2 separate regions of the Homo sapiens genome follow, and region 1 is linked to region 2. The links are contacts of gene promoters, found by promoter capture Hi-C in human tissues and cell types (Jung and others, 2019). All regions are on one chromosome and are shown on one strand. Each heading gives the region's core, a stretch centred on a gene start or on the middle of the fragment in contact. The rest is flanking DNA. Distances are from core to core; before and after follow the strand shown.

The links. Contacts are between HindIII fragments. The study calls those that stand out against the background at their distance.
Region 1: the fragment with the promoter of CACNG8 here is called in contact with a fragment that was not itself captured in region 2 in 1 of the 25 tissues and cell types used here (liver).

The regions. Positions count from the first base shown.
Region 1 is chr19:53,958,980-53,965,966 of GRCh38, reverse strand. It overlaps CACNG8 (calcium voltage-gated channel auxiliary subunit gamma 8), which reads right to left and starts at 3,030. Exons shown (of 4, transcript NM_031895.6): 1 at 2,542-3,030. The coding sequence starts at 2,824. RefSeq lists enhancers at 3,669-4,189, 5,000-5,900. The HindIII fragment of the contact is 7,710 bases long and covers 1-6,531 here.
Region 2 is chr19:53,426,601-53,433,831 of GRCh38, reverse strand. ZNF765-ZNF761 (ZNF765-ZNF761 readthrough) reads right to left here. Exons shown (of 13, transcript NM_001350496.2): 8 at 6,896-7,084; 9 at 6,613-6,745. It overlaps ZNF761 (zinc finger protein 761), which reads right to left and starts at 1,848. Exons shown (of 5, transcript NM_001289951.2): 1 at 1,804-1,848. It also overlaps a transcript of ZNF765 not described here and the pseudogene TPM3P9. RefSeq lists a silencer at 1,892-1,971. The HindIII fragment of the contact is 5,404 bases long and covers 1-3,952 here.

The DNA.
Region 1 (6,987 bases), core at 1,781-4,280, 530 kb before region 2:
TTGATCAACACACAGCCACACTCCCACCTCAGGGCCTCTGCGCCTGCTATTCCTACAGTCTGAAGCACTTTCCTCCATCTCTTACTTCCTTCAGACCTGTGATCAAATGTCACCTGCTCGGGGAAGCTTTTCCTAGATTCCTTATCTACTTCCCACGGGGATCCCTGACCCCTCCCATCCCCTCCCCCAACTCCTTGTCCTCCTTAGCACTCAGTTCTATCTAACACCCTAAAGGTTGACTTTACCTCCATCATTATCTGTCTCTCCCTTAGAATATAAGATATATAACGACAGGAGGTTTTGTCTGTTTGTTTTCCACTGCTGCAGCCCCAGAATCCAGAACAATGCCTGGCACATAATATAAACTCAATAAAAATGGGACGTTGAATGAACGAATGAATGAATGAATGACATCCCTACTAGATGCCACGTGCTGTCCTAGGGCTCCCATGATGGGAGCCCTCACACTTGGCTCTATGCCTGGTACTTGGTCAGACCAGTGAATGGACATGAACTCAAACTTCCACAGGAGAGGCAAAGAACATCACGAGAGCCGTGGGAGGAATGGGAGGCGAGACGGAGCAGATGGAGGTGACTGTGGGGAAGTGGAGACCCCCCAGCTGCTGCTCAGATCCGGCCCATCGTGGTCAGGGTAGAACACAGGCTTGTGCTAGATCTTCCGCCAGCTCAGAAGAAGCCGGAAATCAGAACTACAATGGGAAGCCTCCCTATTTTTAACTGTTGGCAATGGATTCAGATTTTGCTTTCAGTTTTAAACACTTTGTACACTAGACAGAGCGCATCTGTGAATCCCATCCATGAGATTCGAGTTCTGCTCTTGGCTCGGCCCCTTTCTCAGCTAGGTGACCTTGGGCAAGTGACTTCACTTCTCTGAGCCTCAGTTTACCCATCCCCAACAGCGAGGTGGTGCCCACCTCATAGGATTAAACGAGATAACGTTCCCGGCTTGTCGTGAACACTCAGCAAAACAGAGGAAGAAGGGGCAGAGGAAATAGAGGGGGATGAAAAAGAGAAGCAAGAGATTTCAATCTTTTGGCCGAAGGGGGCATCAGGATGGCTGGTTCCACTCCTTCACGTTGCAGACAAGGGCTGTGAGGCTGGGGTGCAGGAGGGAAGACAGTGGTCACACAGCAGGGCAGATATGCAGCAGAACTGGCACCCAAGACTCCTGCTTCCCAGCCCCGCAGCTACTTGATACTCAGGAAAGAAATACTGATGCTAAGAGTGGGAGAGAGAAGGGGTTGGCACAGCAGAGGGCAGGAGTCTTGGAGAAGTGGGGAAGTCGAGAGCCAGGGAGCCGAGCTAGGAGAGAAGCTGTGAGAGGGAGAACAGGACAGAGGAAAAGAACCAAGTCGAAGATCCGAGGAGGTAGCAGGGGCAGGAGCGAGAAGCCTTAACGTGAAGGCCTGAGGCATCGAGTCAGGAAGACGTCGAAGGAGGCATGAGTGGAGGAAGAGGAAGTGGAGTCCACTAAAGGAAAAAGGAGGAAAGGACCAGGATGGGAGGTTGGAGGGCACCCTGGTGGGAGAGACATGGGTGGGGGCACTGATGGGAAGAGAAAGATGAACAGGAGGAGAAGCACAAGGCAGAAAAGAGAGAAAGTCATGAGTGAGGGCGAGTTAAGGCACGAAGTTTCAGGGGAGCAGCAGCCAAAGAGAAGGGGAAAGAGACAGACCGGAAGACTGGGCCGTGAAAGGGGGCGGGAGAGGCAGGGGACTTCAGAGGACTGGGGGGGAAATGTCGGGAGAGAGAAGATGTCACGGGGCACGAGGGAGAGGAAATGAAGGGGCAGGTGGAGCGGAGGAGCAGGGTCAAGATGAACTGACGGGAAAGAGGGAGAAAGAGGCTGCTGGGTGCAGTGGCTCATGCCCTTCATCCCAGCACTTTGGAGGCCAAGGCAGGAGGATCTCTTGAGCTCAGGAGCTCGAGACCAGCCTGGGCAACAGGAGACCTCATCTCTACAAATAATAAAAAAAATTAGCTGGGCACAGTGGCTCATGCCTGTGGTCCCAGCTACTCAGGAGGCAGAGGTGGGAGGATGGCTTGAGCCTAGGGATTCGAGGCTGCAGTGAGCTGTGATTGTGCCACCGTACTCCAGCCTGGGCGACAGAGTGAGACCTTGTCAAAAAAAAAAAAAAAAAGAGAAAAGGCACAGGGCAGAGTGGAAGAAATGAAACAGGAGGAGCCCCAGGTACTGGAGAGAGGGAAGATGCAGGGGTGTGATGGGGCAGCGCAGGAGACACGGACTAGGGAAAGATAGGATAAGGGGGTTCAGCGGAGAGGCAGAGGGGCTGCAGAGGGAGCATGCCGAGGAATTCCGCAGGGTGCCAGGACGCAGGGAGGAGTGGGAAGGAGGGGAGAGGAGGTCAGGGGCGCGAGTGGGAAGGCGCAGAAGCCCCTCTGGCAGAGGAGGAGGGGTGCCCAAGGGGGCCCCAGGATCAGGGACAGGCAGCCCCGGGAGGCTCAGGGTCTCTCGGAGGGGAGCGGCGGGGGCTGCGGGGAGGGCCGCCCGCACCCTACCTTCCAGGCAGCAGATCCTCCAGAGGCCCGAGTGCGTGAGGCCGCCGGGGTCCTTCTTCTCCGAGGCGCCGCCGCCCCCGCGGTGGGGGGTCCCGTCGTCGCCGCCGGCCGTGAGGTTGGTGGTGTTGCAGATGAGGGCGCGCGTGTAGAGCCAGTAGTCAGTGCTGATGGCGATGGTCATGAGGCCGAAGGCGGCGAAGGCGCCCACCGTCGTCAGCAGCACCTGCACCCCCTTCTCGCACCAGAGGCCCCGCTCTTCGTTCCAGCGCTTCAGCGACTCCAGTTTGACCACGGGCAGCCGGGGGGCCGTGGGCCACCACCGGGGCAGCGGGGGCGGGGCCGTGCCGGCGGCTGGGGGGGGGTTCACAGCGCAGGCAGAAGCGGGGGGCCCGGGGCCGGCGGGGCTGGGGAGGGGGGCGGCGAGGAGGAGGCTGCGGCCGGGGAGGGGGTCAGAGCGCGGCCATGGTCGGCGGCTGGTGGAGGGCAAGGAGCGAGATCTCGCATTAGAGGAGAAGAAGGCACAGGTACCTCCCCCAGTCCCCGCCCCCCCCCCCCCAAAATCCCTGCCTCAGCTCCAGAAACTCCTTCCACTCGGGGCTCCACTGCTTCTCTTTCTCAAAAATAATAATAATAATAATAATAATAATAATAATTAATAAATAAGATGAAATCTCTCTCCACTCTTGTCTTCTGCCCAAGAAAGTCATCCCACCATCCCACTAACCCCACTCGGAGGAGTCCCCACCACCGCTAATAATTAATAAATAAGATGAAATCTCTCTCCACTCCTGTCTTCTGCCCAAGAAAGTCGTCCCACCATCCCACTAACCCCACTCGGAGGAGTCCCCACCACCGCTAATAATTAATAAATAAGATGAAATCTCTCTCCACTCCTGTCTTCTGCCCAAGAAAGTCGTCCCACCATCCCACTAACCCCACTCGGAGGAGTCCCCACCACCGCTAATAATTAATAAATAAGATGAAATCTCTCTCCACTCCTGTCTTCTGCCCAAGAAAGTCGTCCCACCATCCCACTAACCCCACTCGGAGGAGTCCCCACCACCGCTCACACTCACAGCCCTCGCCCCTAGCCCGCGCCGCCTCCGCCCCAGGGGGCTCCACGATCCTCATCGCATGGGAAGCCACCCCCCGCCATGATGCCAAGCCCCACGCCGCCGCCTCCTCCCCAGGAGCCCCCGTCGCGTTCTTCCTTCCTTAGCGACCCCCGCCCCATCACCATGCGGCGCCCACCAGCTCTCCCCACTCTTCCCCTGCAAGCCCCACCTCTCCACCCGCTAGAACCCTTCCCTGTCAGCCCAACTTTTCCCTGAGCGTCTCCACAACTTAAGAAGCCCGAGTAGCACCACTTCCGTGGGAGTAACCTCCGCGAGCCCCCTCCGGTCTGGCTTTTGTCATTCCATCACTCCAAATGGTCCCCCACAGTTTCCTCTCCTTAGGAAAAAATAAATCTCTCAACCTCTCTTCAACTAAAAAGGAAAAATTAAAAGAAGAAGAAAAAGAAAAAGAAAATCCCAGCTGACCCTCACAGTTTGTGCAACTCGGAATCACCAGCCACCCTCAGTCAGCCTCCTCTCCCTGGAAGCCCCCTTCCTGCCTCGGGCAGCCTCCAACACACCTGGAAATCACCCGAGGACCTTAAAAATTCGGATGTTTGAGTCCCACCTGAGAAAGTCCGACATGGTTGGTCTGCAGTGTGGCCTGCGCATGTAAGTTTTTAAAAGCTCCCTGGGGAATTCTAATGCACCCAACATCAGACCCACTGGTTTGCAAGCTGCCCCCCCCCCGCCATCTCCAGCCCATTCCCTGTCACAGCCCCCACTGTCTCCCCACAAGCCACTCACTCCCCACCCCATACTATGCCTTTACTCCAGGAAAACCCCCACCCTCTCTTTTGCTTTAGAAGAGTTTTCTGAATCTTCCCACCCCGCCACCCCCCCCCCCACAACTTAAACGAACTCATATCATAACCATCGTTTTCTCCTCCATTAAGAAAAATTTCCTCCGTGAGTTCCACGGCATTTTCTACTCGCAAGAATGGCTTCCTCCAGACCCCAAATGTCTCTCCACTCAGGACCATTCCAATCTCTGCCCTGTACTCCCATAGCAGGGGGCACACTGTACCACCCACCCGCCCCTCTGCACTCACAGCAGCTCCCACTGCCTCCAAATCCCCTCCTCGTAGCCCTTCATCATCACACGGGATCTTCAGCACACTGTTTCCCCCAACTTGAGATCCCCCTAACTCACTTTGAAGCCCACTCTCTCTTCAATGTACCAGGAAGCATCCTCCCCAACTTCTCTCTCATCATATAGAATTCCCTTGACTCACTTCCTCTTGCTCCACCGCTATAGCTCCCAGGTTCTCCTCTGCCCCGGAAAATCCCCTCCGCAGGCCCCCACAGGCTTCCCTTCTTGGGAACGCCCCCCAGTACTCCCCTCTACGACTTCACCTGTACAGGAACACACACTGTAGCCCCTCATCTTCTTCCACATGCAGAAAGAGCCCCCCCAGTAGACTGTGTCCCTCTGAAAAATGTGATCCGCAAGACTACAACTCTCTTTTCAATTAGGAATACTTTCCCAGCCTGCACCCGCTGCCCCGTGGCTCCTTCATTTCTCTCTTCCACATTCTCCCCCGACCACCATGCCCCCAGCCCTGCCTGTCTCCCCCACCCCAACTGTCCTCTGGGGGATGTACTCCTTACTTGCTTCCACACTGCTTCTTCAACTTCTTCCCCCAAACCCACTATAGTTAAGAGCCTGGAAACCTTAGACGAAGAGGGGATTAAAAAAAAACAAAACAAAAACCAGAACCTAGGTCCCAGTACAGGGTGACCTTGGCCTCCTGATTGCTTGCCCGTCTCCACTGCCCCCCATCAGCTGGCCTCAGACTGGGGCTGCTCCGAGGAGGGGCTGTGGAAAAAGGTTGTCTATGGGGGGTGTCTCCATGGCAACTGGGCCTAGTGCCCCACACGTTGTGTTCCCTCCCCCACCTCAACTCCCGTCTGCCCACACACAGCCCTTCCTCAGGCCACAGTTCAGCAGCCCGCTGGACAGGGCAACCCCCAGCCTCCCGGCCTGGGCGCCGGCCCCTTCCTCTCTTTTCTGTCCGCATGCTGAGTTTCCTCTCTTCTTGATCTCTTGGCCTCTTCTCCCCGAATTGGTGCCCCTCACCACCAGCAGGGCCACCTACCCTGTCTTAACAGATATCTGCTCTCAGTGGGGTAAGCCTGTGACCCCAGGCCCCTAACAACCTGGGATAAGAGGGGAAGGGAAGAGGAGGGAAAGGAGGGAAATTCTCCTTCCGTCCAAAAAAAAAAAAAAAGATTCGAAGATCTTTTCATTTTGTCAATTTGGGGCACAATCTGGTTTTAGGGACTCTTAGTCCATCGTTCAGCAGCTGCCAGGGAGAAGAGAGCTGGGGACCCCCAATTCTAAAGCTTCCGGATATGAGGGGGTCACTCTCCTTTCTCCTTAGGAAGGGGACCAGCTCTTTTCTCCAGAATTCGGGGGGGGGGATCACAGAACATTAATTCTACCTCCACCCACCTCCGATTAATAAAAAGATCTGTCTCACCTCTGTTAATGATAGGTCAACTCTCCGATGCACGGAGGAGGGGACGTCGAGCCCCCCCTGTTGGCACCCCCCCCAGAAAAACCTTTTGGCTCCCAATTCTCGCTGCTTCCCCCTCCCCCAGCAGTGAGGGACCCAGGCGTCCGACCTGGTTCGGGGAGTGGAGATGAGGAGGCGTATGGGGAATGGGGGTGCTGAGGTCAGGCTGGGGCTGGGGGGCAGCTCTGAGCCTGGGCCCCAAGGGAGTGAGGGTCGGGATATATATATTAAAAAAAAAAGGTGAGGAGACAATTTGGTTCTCGTGTCGCTGGGTAAAGTGCGGAGCTGGAGGACGAGAGGGAGGGAGTAGGGAGGGAGGGGGAGGGGAGCTGCTGAGGGATGGGGAGCCTCGGAGAGGAGATGGATGGGGGAAGGGAAAGAGGGGGGCAGGGTCGAGTGGCAGAAGGAAGCCGGAGGAGAAGAGAGAGATCCAGAGAGGGAGGGAGAGAGACAGAGAGAGACGAGGAGAAACGGAAAGAGAGAGACCCAGAGACCGCGAAACAGAAATGGGGGAGGGAGAAATTTGGGGGAGGCAGCGGCTGGAAGCAGAAGGAAGTTGGAGAGATACACACAGAGAAATATCCAGAGAGAGAAGGGGACAGGGACAGAGACTCAAAGAGAGAAACGCAGGGGCTGGGGGGGAGGGGGTGGGGGAGGGCTGGGGTAAGTGTGTGTGTGGGGGGGGTCAGGATCTGGGAAACAGAAGGAAAGAAGAGAGAGGGAGAGAGTCATCCAGAGAGGAGGGAGGAGGGACAGATGGGGAGAGACAGACAGAAAGAGAGAGACTGAGAGGATGGGGGAGAGAGGGGGGA
Region 2 (7,231 bases), core at 1-2,500:
CCTCCTTCAGTAGATTCAAAACCTTAATAGGAGTAGTTCTAGCCATACTAAGAATTGGTTTGATACTCCCTTACCTCTTACCTCTCCGTGTTAAGAGCATTCAATCAACTATAGAAGCAATTGCGACCAGGCAGACTACCACTCAGCTAATAGCCCGATATAAATATCAGCCAGTGCTCTTTCATGAAGAATCCAGTAATAGTGATGTCTTCTAGTAAAATCTTGTTCATAAAAGGCATCTAAGGGAGAAAACTGAGGCAGAAAGTTAAAAAACAAACATGCATTCATTCACTCCAAGAAAAGTAACAGGCAAGGCAAGGGTTAAAAAGAAAAGAAGAACAAGTTTTCCTCTGCCTAGCAAGCTCGACTTGGCGAAGTCGAAGCCAAAGAAATGGGCTCCAGACAGCCCCCCACCTTCCCAGAACAAGAGTGAAGAAAAAAAAAAAAAGGACAAATGTGTGTATTTAGCTGTTCTTGTTTTTCTTTCAACTCAGCTACGAGGCCACCAGCTATGGAAGGACACAAGTTATGCTATGCTATAGATTACATGACCTATCATTATATGATTAACTGCTTTTATTCTGCTTCTGAAAGCAAAAAACCCCACTCCGTCTTTGTTGAAATGCTCAGCTTTTTAGATGTAAATCCACTGAGCCGGTGCGTATCTTAAATAAACATCCTTTTGTCTCCCCCATATCAGTCTGTCTAGTCCTCAGTTTCCCGCAACACCATCTCTGCGCCTCCTTTGCTCTCCCCGTTAAATTCTCTCTTCCCTGTTATACCCCCCTGTCCCCACTCTCTAGCACCCCAGATCCCCAGGTGTCCTCCCTGCTGTGCTTCTCCCTCTGTTCTCCTTGCCACCAGCACCACTCTGCTCTGTCTGCCCTGGCTCCAAATCCCTCCTCCTCTCCCTCACCCTGATGAGCCTCCCTCTTTGCTGTCCCTCTCCCTACCTTGCTGTCCTTCATCTCTCTGTACATCCAGCTTTTCTCTACATTTCTGCACTTGCTTTTCTCCTCCTGCTTTCTTATCGTTTTCTTTTCACTTTTGCTGTCTCTTGGCAAATCCCTCACCCATCCTCTACTTTGCCATCTGTTATAGGTCTTTCTCATTCTTCTTTTCTGTCTCAGGTTTTCCACTGCTCTCTGTCCGTCTCCTGATCCCTTTGGCCCACACAGTCACAGGAGGGTTTGGAGTAAGACGCCTGCATCCCGGGGGAGCGCATTTTCCAGGGGCTGGAGCTGGGCAGGCAGTAACACCCCGCGTCACAGGACAGGCCCCGGGCACCTCCCCAACGCGGGCTCAGGGGAAGCGGTGATTGTGGAGGCGAAACCCGTGGAGCAGCAGGGCCCGGCACAAGGAGGGAGGTGAAGGGGCGACAGCACCTTAAGGCAAGGGTGGGGTCTGCAGGATCCTAGGACCAGGCAGAGGACGCGGCCTTTCCGGGACTGGGGCAGCGGCGCTGGGCTCCAGGGGCCGACAAAGGCGAGAATCCACCTCTCAGGTGAGGACTTTAAAAAGCGCGGGGCGGGAGGAGTCAGAAAAAGGTTTACAGCAGGAAAACTACAGGTTAGAAAGTGTATACATTGCCCTGTAGCAGAAACACCCGGGACGGGACCAGCCTCAGGGGGACCTTAAACCCAAAAGGAACCGACCCACGGCCTCTCACGAGGTCGTCTCAATTTGCTCTGAGTGAAGGAAGACGGCTGAGAATTTCCAGGTTTGTGGGGATCCCAAGTCCCAGGTACAGAAGCGCCAGGAACCTGGAAGAGCAGACTTAATACAAGACAGGGCGAAACTCACGCGCCGCGGTGGCACCGTCACTCCACGCTATCCGCTTCCTGGTCTGCACGAATCTGCGCGCGCAGAGCAGAAGCCAGGCCTGGGCGGGACCCGCAAGGAGGTGGGCGGGGCCTGGACGAGGCAGGGGCGGGGCGCGAGGCGGAGAGACCTTGCGCTTTAGAGCCGGCAGAGGGCGGGGCCGGGGCGTGACCGGTGCTCCTCTCAGCTTCTCTCCTAGCACCTGTTTTCGGGTGGTGAAGGTGAGACCGCCCAGGAAGGCTGACGCATGGACTCAAAAGCCCTGGAATTGTCTGGAACGGGATACAAACTAGAATGTAAAATGCAAGGCCCTGCCTGGGCGGAACGTACGATTTCATGCTGACGGCCCACAGAACAGAACAGAAATCCTCTCCCTTTCTATTCTCCACTCACTCAGGAGGGAGAGTCCACCCCGTGCTCAGCTGCAGAGACTTCCCTAGGGCCTCCCCCTGGGATGCGGGACGGAATGCTCAGGCCAGCCAGGGGCGACCTGCTGGATAAACACAGCAAGGATTCAGGCGCGGGGGCGGGAGCCTGAGTTCCCAGCTACTCAGGAAGCAGCGGCGAGAGGATCGCTGAGCCTGGGGGTCCAGGCCAGCCTGGGCGACAAAGTAACACCCCTCCCTCAGGACTCCCTCCCTCGTCTCTCTCTCTTTTTTTCTCCATTTTTTAACGTTAAAATAAAATTTTGATTGTGTGAGATAGGGATACATTATTCTTTTCCATGTGGATATCCAGTTAGTTGTCCCAGCACATTTGTAGAAGAGATCTATTACTTTCTTTTATTTATTTACTTATTTCTTTTCTTTTATTTTGAGACAGAGCATTTCTCTGTCGCCCAGGCTGGAGTGCAGTGGCAGGAACTGGGCTCACTGCAGCCTCTGCCTCCTGGGTTCAAGCGATTCCCCTGCCTCAGCCTCCGGAGTACCTGCCATTACAGGCGCGTGCCACCATGCCCGGCTAATTTTTGTATTTTTGTAGGTGGGTTCCCCATGTTGGCCAGCTGGTCTCAACCTCCTGACTTCAAGTGATCCACCTGCCTCGGCCTCCCAAAGTACTGGGATTACAGGCGTGAGCCACTGTGCCTGGCCCCCCCAAAATACTTTTTACTTCACTGTCTAATTGTTGAGAAAATATAATTGAAAACAAACAAAAAGTCTTTCTCCAAATGAGAAATCATCTCCACGATGATCATAGAGAAAGAAATTAAAACCATTTCATTAATAAATAAGCCTTAGACCAGATTGTGATGCGAAATACAGGCAAACAGCTAAGAGGTTGAAAAAAGAGAAAGAAACTTTACTGTTCTATACAACCCATTAAGGACATGTTTTCAAGATAAACGCTAATCAGTCCTCAGGGAAGAGGACTTGACAACACTCTTGGTCACACATAGTTCATCCTGACTCTACTTGGTAATGGAGGTGACCATCTGTGTCAGCTAATTAGCTTCATTCTGAGGGACGGGGAGTAACACTAACCCATGTCTTTCTGACAAGTGTGAGTTTTACAACATAGCGACAGGTGCCCTCTCTGGTGAGGCTCCTACAGTCTGACAGAAACTGATATCAGCAGTAAATAATAAAATTTAGAATATATGATTAAGCACAGAGTTTATTTGAACACAAAGCATGAGGATAGCCACCTGGAAACATCAACTCCAAATGAATGGGATCAGCGTTCCCTTAGGTTTCACACACACGGAAAGACAGAGAAGCTTTAGAAGAATCACCACATTTTCCATTCAAGACCAGTACATAGGGTGCAGCAAGGTGATTGGTTATGGATTGATATACTTCAAGGAAGGTTACTTTATCACTCAATATAAAGGGACAATGATCCCAGGAGGTCTTATCTCTGGGGCTGCTTAGTCTTTTTAATTATTTACAGGAAAATTCTCTCTCTCTTTTTTTTTTTTTTTGGACGTAGTCTTGCTCTCTCACCCAGGCTGGAGTGCAGAGGCATGATGTCAGCTCACTGCAACCTACACCTCTCAGATTCAAGCAGTTCTCCTGCCTCAGCCTCCCAAGTAGCTGGGATTACAGGCATCCACCACCACATCTGGCTAATGTTTGCATTTTTAGTTGAGACAGGGTTTCACCATGTTAGCCAGGCTGGTCTTGAACTCTTGACCTCCGGTGATCTGCTCACCTCAGCCTCCGAAAATGCTGGAATTACAGGCGTGAGCCACCGTGCCCAGCCTATAAGTGGCTTTTTTACAGCGAATGCTATGCAAAACTTCTCATCAGTCATCATCATATTCAATAGCATTGCTTTTATCATATCACGGAAACCATTATTCTCATTTGGAACAGTCTGCCATCAACCTTCACAAATGCATATGGAAGCCCTCATGCTGGACTTCTCCTCACCCTAGAATCACCTGGGGGCAGGGTAGTTAATTGAAACAGCATGGATGTTTCCCCCGACACCAATAGACAGACGCTATGGGGAGGGCACAGGTGATGGTAGTAACTGAATATGACCATTTGATCCAACTGGAAGCCTGGGCTGAGAGCCTCTTAGCTAAGCACTGACTCTCAAGCTTTAAGGTGAATATAAGTCATCTGGCACTCCACAACCCACTGTAATAATGTTTGATTCTGCAGGTTTGAGGTAGCATTTATAAATTGGCATCTTTAACAAGTTCCCTGTTAATGCCAATGTTTCTCCCCTCGGACCCATTGTCAGAAGCACTGAGCTACAGAAGGCATGCCCTGCACACCAGAGCCCCTTCCACCCAAATATCTGCTCTCAGCACAGATACTGTTGGTTCCCAGGGGAGACCATAAATCACAGTCTTGAAAAGTCACTTTCTCTTTTTTTTTTCTTTCTTTTTTTCAGATGGAGTCTCGCTCTGTCGTCCAAAGTGCTGGGATTACAGGCTTGAGCCACCGCGACTGGCCTGATAGGAGGTGTTTAAAAGGAGCTTCAAAAGAGGTCAGTGCTCTACACTGAACGAAGGATGGAGGGTAATGGTAATGCCTCCACATTAAAATGACACAAATGCTGCTGTCTTACTGAAGTTTGGTACTTTCTGTGGGATAGATACTTTTCACTTTGTTCTGTGGCTTTGGTAAATTTCAGAAGTCTGAAATGATTGATTTTAGTGACTTTGCGAGTGTTTTCATCATTTTGCAGAGGAGACTTGGTTTCTTGTGGTTTGCATTCATCAGTGTCAGAAGCTGATCTCTCTATTCAATCTTGCAGTTTTAAGTAATGCATTGAACAGTCACATAACAGAACGCTGAGCAGGAGAACTAAATTTCTAGTGTAATCAGAATGGCAGGCACTAAATGAATTATTTTACAATAAGCCTGTGTCCTTTTTATTAACTGTTCAGTGGAGAAGTTTGGAGTCTATAAACTTGTAATAAATGTGGCCTGTAAGAACTACAAATACTGGAAAGCTCTGAGGATGTAATTTCTAATTTGATGAAGAAAACATTCTCTTTAATTAACTTGGCAAGGAGAAGGCTTCAATAAAAAGAAAGGCAACTATGCCTGGGGCGGAGCTGGAGTGGAAATAAGATGGCAGACATTGGACGTCATTGAAGGCCTGGTGATGTGGTTTTAGTCCATGTGCCAAGAGCAAAAAGTTATTTAAAATATATTAGTTAGGGCCGGGTGCAGCGGCTCATGCCTATAATCCCAGCACCTTGGGAGACCAAGGGCGGGTGGATCATATGACGTCCGGAGTTCAAGACCAGCCTGACCCATGTGGTGAAACCGCATCTCTAATAAAAATACAAAAAAATTAGCTAGTGGTGGTGGCATGTGCCTGTAATCCCAGCAACCTGGGAGGCTGAGGAAGGAGAATCACTTGAACCTGGGAGGCAGAGGTTGCAGTGAGCTGAGATCATGCCACTGCACTCCAGCCTGGGTGACAGAGCAGGACTCCATCTCAAAAAAAAAAAAAAGAGTAAAAATATATTAGTTATTGGGGAATATCAGCATATATAAATGTGTCTTCAGGTAAAAGTGACAATAACCTGGATACAGACACATGGAAATAGGAAATTTTTTCAGGTGTTCAAGAGGGAGCAGTGAAATGTAACTTAGTGATATTGGGGCATGATAATGGGAGAAAATATTTCAAACCATATATACCATACCTGTGATAAGGAGTTTATATCCAAAATATATAAGGAACACTCACAACTCAAAAGCAAATATGGTAATAGTAATAACCCTATTAAAAAAGAGCAAAGGGGCTGGGCGTGGTGGCTCACACCTGTAATCCCAACAATTTGGGAGGCTGGGCAAAGTGGATCACCTGAGATCAGGGGGTCGAGACCAGCCTGGCCAAGATGGTGAAACCTCATCTCTACTAAAATACAAAAGTTAGCCGGGCGTGGTGGCTAATCACGCCTCCCCGGAAGGCGGAGGTTGCAGTGAGCCGAGATCGTGCCATCGCACTCCAGCCTGGGCAACAGAGTGAGAATCCATCTCAAAAACAACAACAACAACAAAAAAAAGTAAAGGGCCTGAATAGACTAATCATCTGGAAAATGCCAATCAAAATCACAGTGAGGTATCACTTCACATGTCTTAGGATTGCTATTATTAAAAAGACAAAAGGTAACAAGTGGTGAGGATGCGGAGGAAAAAAAATACCCCTGTACGTTGTTGTTGGGACAGTCAATTGGTAGAGCAATTATTTTTCTTAAAAATTCTAAAAAACATGGAGTTGCCTTACAAGTTATAATTTAATTTTACTCAAAACAATATGAGAATTAAAATTCTTTTTAATTTTAAAAATCAAAATGACCAAACAATCCAGCAATCCTACCTCTGAGTATGCGTCTGAAGGAAATGGGTATTTCCAAGAGCTATCTGCACTGCCACGCTTGCTGCAGTGTTATTCGCATCAGCCAAGGCACGTCAGCCGTATGAGGGTCCTTCATGATGCACGGATAAACACACTGTGAGACAGACAGACAGACTTCTCAGCGGCTGAGAGGGTTTTAGAGATCCTGACACCCAGAGAGGAACTGGGGACAGAAGAGGATGCAGCTTTCCATTACCAAAGCTGAGGAGGTCCGGAAGGAAGAGGAGAGGCCAGTGGGGCTCACCTGCAGGAGCCTGCTGAGACTCCGGAGCATGGTCCGTGGGAACGATTCTGATGCTTCTCAACCACGTGCTTCCTTAGCAGAGAACTGTCTAGATTAGCGGTTCCCAGTGTTTTTGGCACCAGGGACTGGTTTAGTGGAAGGCAGTTTTTCCACAGATGGGGGGATGGTTTCAGGATTAAACTGTTCCACCTGAGATCATCAGGCATTAGTTTGATCTCATAAAGAGCATGCAACCCAGATCCCTCGCATGCACAGTTCACAGTAGGGTTGGCATTCCTCTGAGATGCAGTGGCGCTGCTGATCTCACAGAAGGCAGAGCTCAGGTGGTCACGCGCA